3 separate regions of the Homo sapiens genome follow, and all the other regions are linked to region 2. Evidence: promoter capture Hi-C in human tissues and cell types (Jung and others, 2019). All regions are on one chromosome and are shown on one strand. The core of a region is centred on a gene start or on the middle of the fragment in contact, and the rest is flanking DNA. Distances in the headings are between cores, read along the strand shown.

Region 1 (3,874 bases), core at 1,240-3,739, 270 kb after region 2:
TTTCCTTGGAGCCCTTGGTCTGATTATCCTCCTTCCAGTGATAGAAACACTTTCCTTGCTATTCTGATCCAAATCCAAAGAGGGTGACCTAGTGGATAAGAGAGGGACATGTGCGTCAGCAGGCAGACTCCTGTCCTCACCCCTGCCTCCCTTCACTCAGCATCTAGGATGACAGGTTGTCCCTGGGAGCTGGGAGGAGACTGGAGCTCACCTCCAGGAAACAGACTCTGGACACTCTCCTAGAGTCACTGAGGATCCCAAAAAAGAGAATGTCAACTCACTTTTCCTCATGGTATTGGAGGAAGAGAGGGGAACCCCCAGGACGTAAGAGAAGGGCATTCCAGGCAAACGGAATGGTGCGAGAGAAGGCATGAGGCAGCTCATGTGTCTGGGGAATTCTAAGAGCCCATTATGGGAGCCTGGGAGACAGGAGGCAAGGGGAGGAGTCAGAACATGTATAGTCTTTTTTTTTTCTGAGATGGAGTCTCGCTCTGTCACCAGGCTGGAGTGCAGTGGCGCAATCTCGGCTAACTGCAACCTCTGCCTCCCGGGTTCAAGCGATTCTTCTACCTCAGCCTCCCGAGTAGCTGGGACTACAGGCATGCCTGGCTATTTTTTGCATTTTTAGTAGAGATGAGGCTACCACCATGCCTGGCTATTTTTTGTATTTTTAGTAGAGATGGAGTTTGACCATATTGGCCAGGCTGGTCTCGAACTCCTGACCTCATGATCCACCCGCCTCAGCCTCCCAAAGTGTTGGGATACAGGCATGAGCCACCACGCTTGGCCTACATGTAGAGTCTTGAAAGCCAGGCAGAAAACTTTAGACTCCATGCTGAAGGCATTGAGGAGCAGGAATTTTAAGAGAAGAAGATACAAGAATCTTTCCTGCCGGGGCACAGTTGTGCAAGACACAGAACAAAGCCTTGGGCCCCAGGGATGACCCTGACCCTGGTAAGACAGCCAGTTGTCCTGGTTGCACCTGGGGAGGAAGGGGGAGGGAACTGACCTGGGGCCCTTCCCACAGCAACCCACAGCCACATCCTACCCCTTTTCCTATTCCCCCTCACCGTGTCTTTGCTATCTTCCACTCCACTAGGGAACCAGACCATCTTCCAAAATCTGAGAAAGAATTGGAGGTGGGGGAGTTTGGGCCACAAGACCTGGGAAAGTCCTGCAAGTGTCCCCAGTAAGCCAATAGAAGGTCTTCCCAGAGCCCCTGCTGTTACTCCCTGCAGTGACCTCCCCTCACCCCCACACAGAGAATGTCTGGGGACACCTCCATCACCTTATCACTTAGAGCATCTGAAGTCCACACCAGGTCAGAGAGCTTCCGCAGTAGCATCTCCAGCTGCATCCAGGAGCCCTGGTCGCTGGCATTCCTGGGATAGATGAAGCATTGTGTGTGGTTTGGTTCCCCACGTCCATCTCAAAGCCCTGGACTTGGGGCCTGCTTCATCTTGGGAAGGGGAGCAGAAACTGATGGAACTGTGGGGCAGGCCTGGCCTTCCTGCTCCCGCCCTCTCCCCAGCACCCACCTGAAAACCACGGGGTATTGGTCGATGTCGTTGCCAAGGCTGGAGCCCTGCGGGATCTGTGGGCGCCCCAACAGCACACAAGTCCCACAATAGAAATCAAAATGGCTCACCGAGAGCCTGGGAATCCCTTTAAACAGCTTCCTCCACAATTTCCCAAGCTCGCTCCCTGAGTTCATGCCCTGGAAACAGCAAGAGGGAGATTGGGGGCTGGGCCCAGGGGAGAGAAAACAGAGCTGGGTGGGTGAGATCTCCATCCAGAGGCTGTGAAGACAGGGCCAAGGGCAGGGATTTGGGCGGAAAGTGGGAGATGGGTGAGGCCCGGAAAGCATGGGGGATATGGCCGGGCCCAGTGTTGACCACTGACCAACCACCAGAGCACAGTGTCAGAGGTCATAGACTCTCTTGTCCTCATCAGGTACCCCATAGTCTTCCTGGAGCACGCATCAAGCCAGTTCCATTCGTCGGCTGTGTGGTGGCAGGAGGAGCAGTTGAGGGTCTCAGAAGGGCAGCCACACTTCCCGGAACTGAACCAAGGGCAGTCGCAATGCTGTGGTACCAAGTACATTCGTTTTTCCTGGGGTGCTGATTCAGGTGTCAGATCCAGATAGGGGGTCATCAGCCAGAGGATGAGCACCCAAAAGACCCACAGGACAAAAATCTGCCAGCGCTTCATGTCTGGCCCAGGCGGTGGCTCCCGTGGTGGGCCGTAGACTGGCTTCTCTACCTGTAAGGATGAGGGGCTGAGGCCACAGACAGCACCAGCTTCCCTCTGTCCTGTCGGCCTCCACAACTCCCCATCCCACCACCTTCCACCTCCTTCCAACCCCTCCTCTCCTGCCTCACTATCCATTTGCTCACCCTCAAAACGGTCTCTGACTGGGCATGGGGTGGAAGAGGCCAGGGCAGAGAGACAGCATGTGGCTAGTCCTGAGAGGGGAAGGAATACCTCAGTGGGGGCCTTGCTGTCATCCCAGTTATATCATAGATCTCATCACAAAGTACACATTGTGACCTCCCTCCTTTAGCCTGCCTGAAAAAAGCCACCACCCTACCCTTTCTCTGACACCGAAATGACCTCCACTGGATGTAAGATTCATGAGGACAGGGGCTGACCTAGTCTCTCTTCTTCACCTCTGCAGCTCTAAGACTTAGAATCATTTAATAAATATTTATGGGATAAATAAACAGGGGTTGAGAGGGAACTTTTTTTTTTTTTTTTGAGATGGAGTTTTTGCTCTGTTGTCCAGGCTGGAGTGCAGTGGCATGATCTTGGCTCACTGCAACTTCCGCCTGCCTGGTTCAAGCGATTCTCATGCCTCAGCCTCCCAAGTAGCTGGGACTACAGGCATGCGCCACCACGCCTGGCTAATTTTTATATTTTTAGTGGAGACAGGGTTTCGCCATATTGGCCAGGCTGGTCTCAAACTCCTGACCTCAAGTGATCCGCCCACCTCAGCCTCCCAAAGTGCTGGAATTACAGGCGTGAACCACCATGCCCAGCCGGGAACTTTATTTTTAAATTATTATTATTATTATTATTATTATTATTATTATTATTATTATTTTGAGACGGAGTTTCACTCTTGTCGCCCCAGCTGGAGTGCAGAGGCACGATCTCGGCTCACTGCACCCTCTACCTCCCGGGTTTAAGTGATTCTCTTGCCTCGGTTTCCCAAGTAGCTGGGATTACAGGTGCCCGCCACCACGCCTGGCTAATTTTTTTGTATTTTTAGTAGAGACGGGGTTTCCCCATGTTGGTCAGACTGATCTCGAACTTCTGACCTCAGGTGATCCGCCCGCCTTGGCCTCCCAAAGTGTTGGGATTACAGGCATGAGCCACTGCACCCCGCCCCAGCCTGGAACTTTAAATATACTTGTGTGTGATGCCCTCTCTGGAGTTGTGTGACATCAACTCAATCCTCTCTTGTAGTCTCTAGACCCCATATCCAACAGCCTACTGAATTGCCACTTAGATGGCTCAGAGACATCTCACCTGAATAAGCCTGAGACTGAACCCAGGATTTTCCCTGTAAACCAACCCTTCCCAAAACTTCTCTGTCTCTTTTGTTTTGTTTGAGACAGAGTCTTGCTCTGTCACCCAGGCTGGAGTGCAGTGGCGCAATCTCAGCTCACTGCAACTTCTGCCTCCTCCGGGGTTCAAGCAATTCTCCTGCCTCTGCCTCCCGAATAGCTGGGATTACAGGTGCGTGCCACCAAGCCCGGCTAATTTTTTGTATTTTTGGTACAAACGGGATTCCACCATGTTGGCCAGGCTGATCTCAAACTCCTGACCTCAGGTAATCTGCCCACCTCGGCCTCCCAAAGTACTGGGATTA
Region 2 (3,771 bases), core at 646-3,145:
CCAGCCCCCAAATCCCAAGAGCCGGTGGTATGTGTGGGAAGGACCGGGGACCTGTGGATGGGCACCATCCCAGCACCTCTCCCATCTGTCCAACCCTAACCTTCATGAAAGACTGCCAATTCTGATAGAAATTCCAAGATTGCTAATGTTTTCTTTGGATAAGAATCAGGACTTTGCTCTGCTCTGGAAAACCAAGCAGGAACTGTCCAGATGCAGCTCAGGACCACAGCAATCGACTCCTGAACTGGAATGCAGTGAAGGCAGGTTTTGGGTGAGAGGCAAGGAACCAAAATTTATTGAGCATCCATATATTATCTCGTTTAATTTCCACATAGACTCAGCAAAGGGGTGGAGTTTCCTGGGAACTTTTTGAACTTATTAGCTTACTTCTTTTTTCTAAACTCTCATTATGGAAAATTTCAAACTCACAAAAGTAGGAAGAATGCTTCTATGATCTCCCAGATACCCACCACCTGCCTCAGCAATTATCAACGTTGTGGCATTCCTATTTATCTACCTTTTTTTGGCTGATGTATTTTAAAGAAAATCTCAGGCATTCTAACATTTCACCTTTAAATACTTTAGTATATACCTCTAACAGATAAAGGCTAATTTTTAACATAAGCACACAATCATTATCAAGCCCAACAAAATTAACAATAATTTTTTAAAATCTAATACCCAGTTCGAGTTCACTTTCCCAAAGTACCTTGGAAATGTCTTTTACAGTTGTTTGCTTGAATCAGGATCCAAACAAGATCCACACACACATGGCTGACATGTCTCTTAAAGCCCTTTTTATTTAAAACACCCCCGTCCTACACACACGTTTCCCTCCATATATTTGTTGAAGAAACTGGGTCAGGTGTCCCGAGTATAATCATTTGGCGTGACTAGAATCAAGTTTACTTTTAATACGTCTCTCTTGCCCATAATTCCTGAATGTTGTTCATTAGATTTACAGGCTGACTAGATTCAAGTTCAATTTTTTTGGCAAGAATACTTCCTAGGTGGTGCTGGTACTTCCTATTCACCATATTAGCAAATACATATGATGCAGACTGTCCCACTTTTAGTGATGTTGAGGTCGAGCATTTGCTTCAGGTTGTGTCAGCCTGACCCAACCATTATACAATTCACCTGGAGAACTTAAAAAAAAAAAACAACAAAAAAGATTGCCTACGTCCCAAACCAAACCTCCTGAATCAGAATATCTTCCCCACCTCCTCCATGTGTTTAAAAGGCTCCCCGGGCCAGGTGCGATGGGAGCACTGGAGTAATCCCAGCACTTTGGGAGGCCGAGGGGGGGCAGATCACCTGAGGTCAGGAGTTCGAGACCAGCCTGGCCAACATGGCAAAACCCCGTCTCTACTAAAAATACAAAAATTAGCCGGGTGTGGTGGCACATGCCTGTAATCCCAGCTACTCGGGAGGCTGAGGCAGGAGAATGGCTTGAACCCGGGAGGCGGAGGTTCAAGTGAGCCGAGATTGCACCACTACACTCCAACCTGGGTGACAGAGTGAGATCCTGTCTCAAAAATAAAAAAGAAAGAAAATACTTTTTAAAAAAATAGGAAATTCACCCCTTTGGAAAGTGGCAGAGCCAGGTGTGACCCCAGGACTCCGCATTTTTAAGTCACCACAGGTGGTTCTGCTGCAGGTGGTCCGAGTATTTCCCTTGGTAAAATACGGTGCTTTTGGCGCTGTTCCATTCCGGGGGCTGTCACCTGGTTCTTCAACACAAAGCTTGTCCTCAAGGAACCCACAGTCCTGGGGCAGCGAGCATGTGCACTAGTGGCAATCACGTGGGGAGGAAGCGGTCAGTGCCATAAAGGCAGTTCAGGGAAACTGCTGGGAGGGCACAGCAGAAGGAGCACTCACTGCCAGCTGGGAAGTCATGGAAGGCTTCCTGGAAGACAGGCATGGAGCTGAACTTTGAAGGAATCAGGTTATTCCAGGGGAAGGGGCAGCACTGGCAGAAGAACAGAGGCAAAGGGAAATGCTATCACCTTTCGTGGGGCTGGGGGAGTTAATGAGATGGGAACGACCAAATATGGAGATCCTAAAAGAAAGAAATGAGGCAGAGACAAGGTCCACTTGAGTAGCCGAGTAGACTGCTGGGGACTTGCTCGGAGGCCCAGGGACTTACAGGAACACACCCTATCAGGGGTGCTGGTGCTCACACACAGCTCAACAGGACCCTGCTAATGAAGGGTAATACTTCTGTACCAGGAGCTGGTATCAGCGCATTACACACCCTGCCCCATGAATCTTCACCCACATCCCTATGACGAAGGTGCCATTGTTCCTTCTATCTTCCAGAGGAAGAATTTAAAATGTCACACTGCTAGGACATGGCAGAGCTGGGATTCAAAACCAGGCAGTCTGGCTCCCAGAGACTGCATTCCTGACCACTCTGCTTCCCTGCCGCTCACCCTCTTGAAGAGTGAAGACCCTAGCAGCCTCCTGCCCATGGAGCATGGGGTCCTCATAGCAGGCCTCTCCTCCTCATACCTCTGCCTTCACCTCACAAGCTCAGGGAGTCCTCCTGCCCCTGCCCTGCTCCCTCTGTCTCCCCCTCAGGGCTCTCTTGGGTTTCTGTGCAGCAGGATACTGGCTCCCTCGCTCTTCCCTTCCTTTTGGTTCCTGGACCCAAACCACAGGCCTCTTTCCTTTAAGGGGTCACTCCTGTTCTCTGCAGACCCAGAACAGGGGTTAAAAGAGCAAGAGACAAGGCTGCGGACAAAGGTTTTGAGTCTCCCACAGTGCTCAGAGCCGTGTTCCCTGGTTCCCAGCTGAGCTCCCTGTGGACAGCCCCTGGGGAAGAGCCTGCTCAGGAGACAGAGGCCCTGAACAGCTTGTCCCAGGTCATAGAATAGCCCAGGAGCACAGCCAGGACTGGACCCCAGGAAGCAGAGCTGCCTTCCGCTGGCTCTACCAGTTTGTTTGGGATGGAGCTCAGCGATGAGCTCACCCTTCCCTGCTGCCAGAGGGGCCAGGACCTGAGTAAGGAGCTGGGGGCGGCCTGGCCCTCTCATGCCAGCAGAAGGCCAGCCCCAGGCTTTTGGCCAACCTTGCACTGATCTTGCCCATCCCCCTTCCTTTCCGTTGCTCAAAGGTGGCTTCACAGAAGACACTGGCGGTGTCAGTAGTGTGGGAGGCATGTACTGCCCGTGGCCTGGGTCTGCCCCATGGGGTTCTTCTCTCTTCCAGAGACCTAAGCCAGGAAGGCCAAACAATCCCCACCCCCATGTGTCCCTAGGCCAGTGACGCTGGGGCCAGAGTGGGCAGTAGGACTCTAGACCACCTCCTAGGTTCCTGGCAGCCTCCCTGGACTTACAGGTGGCAGGAATGGGCCGAGCCATGCCTTAGGGCCAGAAGATAAGAGGCAGGGCTCAAGGGGCTACAAATGCCAGAGGTCAAGGCAAGCAAGGGTCTGACACTGGGCAGACAGGAGTCAGGACTGGTGATCCACAGCCTACCTGACTCCCTACCCCCTGCATTTTCTCCCCAAAGCTGCGGTTACTTCATCCCCCTAAGTTCAGGCCTCCTTGTCCTGTCCTAGGCACAATACAGAAGCCCAGGGGAGTTGGCTTTCAGAGGATCTGGTTGCTGGCGCTCCACTGGCCTCGTGCTTCCTTTCTGGTCAATGGGCTTCCTCCAGTAACCAAGCTTCTATCTTACATAGGATTACAACAGCTGCCATTCTGTGTCATACCACGCACTTCACGTGTATCTTATTCAACCTCACACAACCCGGTGAGGTAGGTC
Region 3 (3,757 bases), core at 634-3,133, 360 kb after region 2:
CTGTTACATAGCAAGAGTTTGGGGACCTCTAGTCTTCTGGCTGTGACCATCTGATTCCTCATTCTTTCCTCCATGGCTCAGGTGTGCAGCCTGAGTGTGGGTATGACGATTGGTGGGTGCTGAATTCTCAACCCACAGACCCCTGGGAAAAATGGGTCTGGAGGAGGGACCCACAGATCCTGAATGAGCTCTCTGACCTGATGTCTAGGATGAGAGGAGGGGGCTGAAGGGCTTGCAGAGCAAAGGGGACTAAGTATTTAGAAGTGCCCTGAGTGATGCCCTGCTCCTTCTTAACATTCATTATTTGCAAATATTTGAGCACCTACTACATGCTAGGCTTATCTAGGTGCTGGAGGATACAGTAGTGAATGAAAATCTGTGCCCTGATTAAGTTTATGTTCTAGTGGGCATGGCAGGCAATAAGGAAATAAATAAATGGGCCAGGCATGGTGGCTCACATCTGTAATCCCAGCACTTTGGGAGGCAGAAGTGGGTGGATCACTCAAGCTCAGGAGTTGAAGACCAGCCTGGGCAACATAGCGAGACCCCATCTCTACAAAAAATACAAAAATTAGCTGGGTGTGGTGGCGCAAGCCTGTAGTCCCAGCTACTCGGGAGGCTGAGGCGGGAGGATTGCTTGAGGCCGGGAGATGGAGGTTGCAGTGAGCTGAGATCATGCCACTGCACTCCAGCCTGGGCAACAGAGCGAGACTCCATCTCAAAGAAAGAGAGAAATGAAATATATAGCATGTTAGTGACACGTGCTGAGGAGAAAAACAAAACAGGGAAGGGGGATAGAAACTGGTATTTGCTAAGTGCAATTTTAGATGGGGTTTTCTAGGAAGTGCTGTGACGTCATCACTTGCTTTAAAAGAGGCCAGGCGCAGTAGCTGACTCCTGTAATCCCAGCACTTTGGGAGCCCCAGGCAGGCGGATAACCTGAGGTCAGGAGTTCACGACCAGCCTGGCCAACATGGTAAAACCCCGTCTCTACAAAAATACAAAAATTAGCCAGGCATGATGGCGGGTGTCTGTAATCCCAACTACTCGGGAGGCTGAGGCAGGAGAATCGCTTGAACCCGGGAGGCGGAGGTTGCACTGAGCCGAGATTGCACTACTGCCCTCCAGCCTGGGCGACACAGCAGGACTCTGTCTCAAAAAATAAAAATAAAATAAAAATAAAAATGCTGGGCGCAGTGGCTCATGCCTGTAATCCCAGCACTTTAGGAGGCCGGGGCGGGTGGATCACCTGAGATCGGGAGTTCAAGACCAGCCTGACTAACATGGAGAAACCCCGTCTCTACTAAAAATACAAAATTAGCCAGGCATGGTGGTGCATGTCTGTAATCCCAGCCACTCAGGAGGCTGAGGCGGGAGAATCGCTTGAACCCGGGAGGCGGAGGTTGCAGTGGACCAAGATCGCGCCATTGCACTCCAGCCTGGGCAACAGAATGAGACTCCATCTCAAAAAAAAAAAAAAAAGAAAGAAAGAAAGAAAGAAAGAAAGAAAGAAAGAAAGAAAGAAAGAAAGAAAGAAAGAAAGAAAAAAACTGTTATAGACTGAGTGCCATTTTAGATGGGGTTTTCTGGGAAGTGCTGTGACATCATCGCTTGCTGTAAAAGAGGCCGGGCGCGGTGGCTGACGCCTGTACTCCCAGCGCTTTGGGAGGCCGAGGCGGGAGGATCGCTTGAGCCTAGGAGTTCGAAGTTACAATGAGCTATGATCAGGCCACTGCACTCCAGCCTGGGCAATGAGAAAGACCCTGTCTCTTAAACAACAACAAAGTCAGAAGGAGAGGCTGCCATGGCTACGGCTCCAGGTGACGTCACGGCCAGCTCCGTGACGCGCGGCCAGGGCAGCCCGCGGAGACCGAGGCTCCTCTGTGACGTCAGCAGCCGGCCGGGACACAGCGGGAGGGCAGGTGCGGCCGCGGGGCCTGCCGACTTCACGCAGGGTCCGTGGGGTCCCCGCGGCGCGCAGCGGCTGAAGGAGGCCCCAGGGCCTTGGCGACCGCAGCGGCGGCTTTAGCGTCAGTGACTAGGCAGCAGGGGGTCAGGATGCGGCGAAGCTCCCGCCCGGGCTCGGCCTCGTCCTCGCGCAAGCACACGCCCAACTTTTTCAGCGAGAACAGCTCAATGAGCATCACCTCGGAGGACAGCAAAGGGCTCCGGTCAGCGGAGCCCGGGCCTGGGGAGCCCGAGGGCAGAAGAGCCCGGGGCCCGAGCTGCGGTGAGCCCGCCTTGAGCGCGGGAGTGCCCGGAGGAACCACATGGGCAGGAAGCTCTCAGCAGAAGCCAGCGCCTCGGAGCCACAACTGGCAGACAGCCTGTGGCGCGGCAACCGTGAGGGGCGGGGCCTCGGGTGCGGGCGGGGTCGACCCCGGGTGAGCCAGTGGAGGGGGCGGGGCCTAAAGGGCGGTGCTGGGCGGGGACGGGGCTAAGATGATATCTGGGCACCTCCTACAAGGTGGGTCCTGTAGGGTAAAGGGATGGTGCTAAATGAGATCCCTTAAGGGGCGGAGCCTCGGTGTCCTGGACGGTTATGGGAAGGGGCGGGGAAAATCTTGTGGTTGGGTGCCACTGAGGGGGCGCGGCCTCAATGTTAGCGTGAGTGGCTCCCAGGACAATTGGGTTCCACCAAGATCTAAGGCTGGGGGCGGGTCATCCGTTTGGGGGAGGGACCAACTCTTTTTTTTTTTTTTTTGCAACGGAGTTTCGCTCCTGTTGCCCATGCCATGCAATGGCATGATCTCGGCTCACCGCAACCTCCGCCTCCCGGGTTCAAACGATTCTCCCGCCTCAGCCTCCCGAGTAGCTGGGATTACAGGCGTGCGCCACCATGCCCGGCCAATTTTTGTGTTTTTAGTAGAGACGGGGTTTCTCCGTGTTAATCAGGCTGGCCTCGAACTCCCGACCTCAGGTGATCCGCCCGCCTCGGCCTCCCAAATCGCTGGGATTACAGGCGTGAGCCACCGCGCCCGGCCAGGAGACCAACTCTTGACGGAGCCTCCCTGAGGGGCGGGGCTTCAGAGGGCGGAGCTGGAGCCGGGATAGGGCTGCGGTGGGACCAAAGCCTGTGAGAGACTTCCCAGCTGTCTGGCTTGTGGACTGAGCAATCTGCGGCCCGGTCTCGAGGGGAAAATAGGTCTGTGGTCCGCAAGGCCCCAGTGGAGCCCTTGGGTTCCCGCAGAACCGACTGGGTCTCCAGTAGTCTCTGAGGAGCCGCTCGACCTTCTCCCGACCCTGGATCTGAGGCAGGAGATGCCTCCCCCGCGGGTGTTCAAGAGCTTTCTGAGTACGGGCCAGGCCAGCTGCGATCCCCTCTGACCCTCGGGTTCCCCTCTCCGAACTCCAGTTCTCTCTGAGCCCCCGGCCCCCGTTTGAGTATCGAGCCCCTCTCCGAGCCTCAACTCATTCCTAGCCCCCATCCAATTATCCTAGCCGACCCTCTCTTCCTGAGCCCCAGGCCCACCCCCGGCCCCTCCCAAGCCCCTTCTGAACCCGGACACCACGCAGGCTGAGCCCCGCCTCTCCCTGCCGTGGGCCCCTCTCTGACCCTCTGTCCTGGCCTCAGGCCTGCTCTTCCAGGGGCTGAGCGTGTTGTTATCCCTGGCAGGAGACGTGCTGGTCAGCATGTACAGGTCAGAGGAAGGGACGCTGGCGCCCCAGGAACAGCTCTTTGGAGGGGGTGGGGAGCAGGGCCGGAACCTTGCTGGCGCTTGAGCCGATTCAGATCTGATTGAGTCATGTTGGCAAG

The links. The method cuts DNA at HindIII sites, captures the fragments that hold promoters and counts their contacts. A contact is called where the count stands out against the background at its distance.
Region 1: a contact is called between the fragment with the promoter of C20orf173 here and a fragment that was not itself captured in region 2, in 2 of the 25 tissues and cell types used here (dorsolateral prefrontal cortex and pancreas).
Region 3: the fragment with the promoter of SPAG4 here is called in contact with a fragment that was not itself captured in region 2 in 3 of the 25 tissues and cell types used here (dorsolateral prefrontal cortex, pancreas and spleen).

What each region holds. Positions count from the first base shown.
Region 1 is chr20:35,527,163-35,531,036 of GRCh38, forward strand. It overlaps C20orf173 (chromosome 20 open reading frame 173), which reads right to left and starts at 2,490. Exons shown (of 6, transcript NM_001145350.2): 1 at 2,397-2,490; 2 at 1,903-2,262; 3 at 1,539-1,717; 4 at 1,289-1,382; 5 at 1,071-1,122; 6 at 1-88. The coding sequence starts at 2,211. The coding sequence ends at 1,096. The HindIII fragment of the contact is 31,043 bases long and covers 1-3,874 here.
Region 2 is chr20:35,257,646-35,261,416 of GRCh38, forward strand. The region is part of intron 2 of MMP24-AS1-EDEM2 (MMP24-AS1-EDEM2 readthrough); the gene reads right to left. All of the region lies in intron 4 of MMP24 (matrix metallopeptidase 24), which reads left to right. Among named protein-coding and RNA genes, the nearest start is that of MMP24-AS1-EDEM2, 19 kb to the right of the region's middle. RefSeq lists an enhancer at 3,629-3,771. The HindIII fragment of the contact is 5,720 bases long and covers 1-3,771 here.
Region 3 is chr20:35,613,946-35,617,702 of GRCh38, forward strand. SPAG4 (sperm associated antigen 4) reads left to right here and starts at 1,884. Exons shown (of 12, transcript NM_003116.3): 1 at 1,884-2,362; 2 at 3,191-3,295; 3 at 3,575-3,641. The coding sequence starts at 2,059. RefSeq lists a silencer at 1,930-2,659 and enhancers at 3,090-3,359, 3,390-3,757, 3,570-3,619. The HindIII fragment of the contact is 21,465 bases long and covers 1-3,757 here.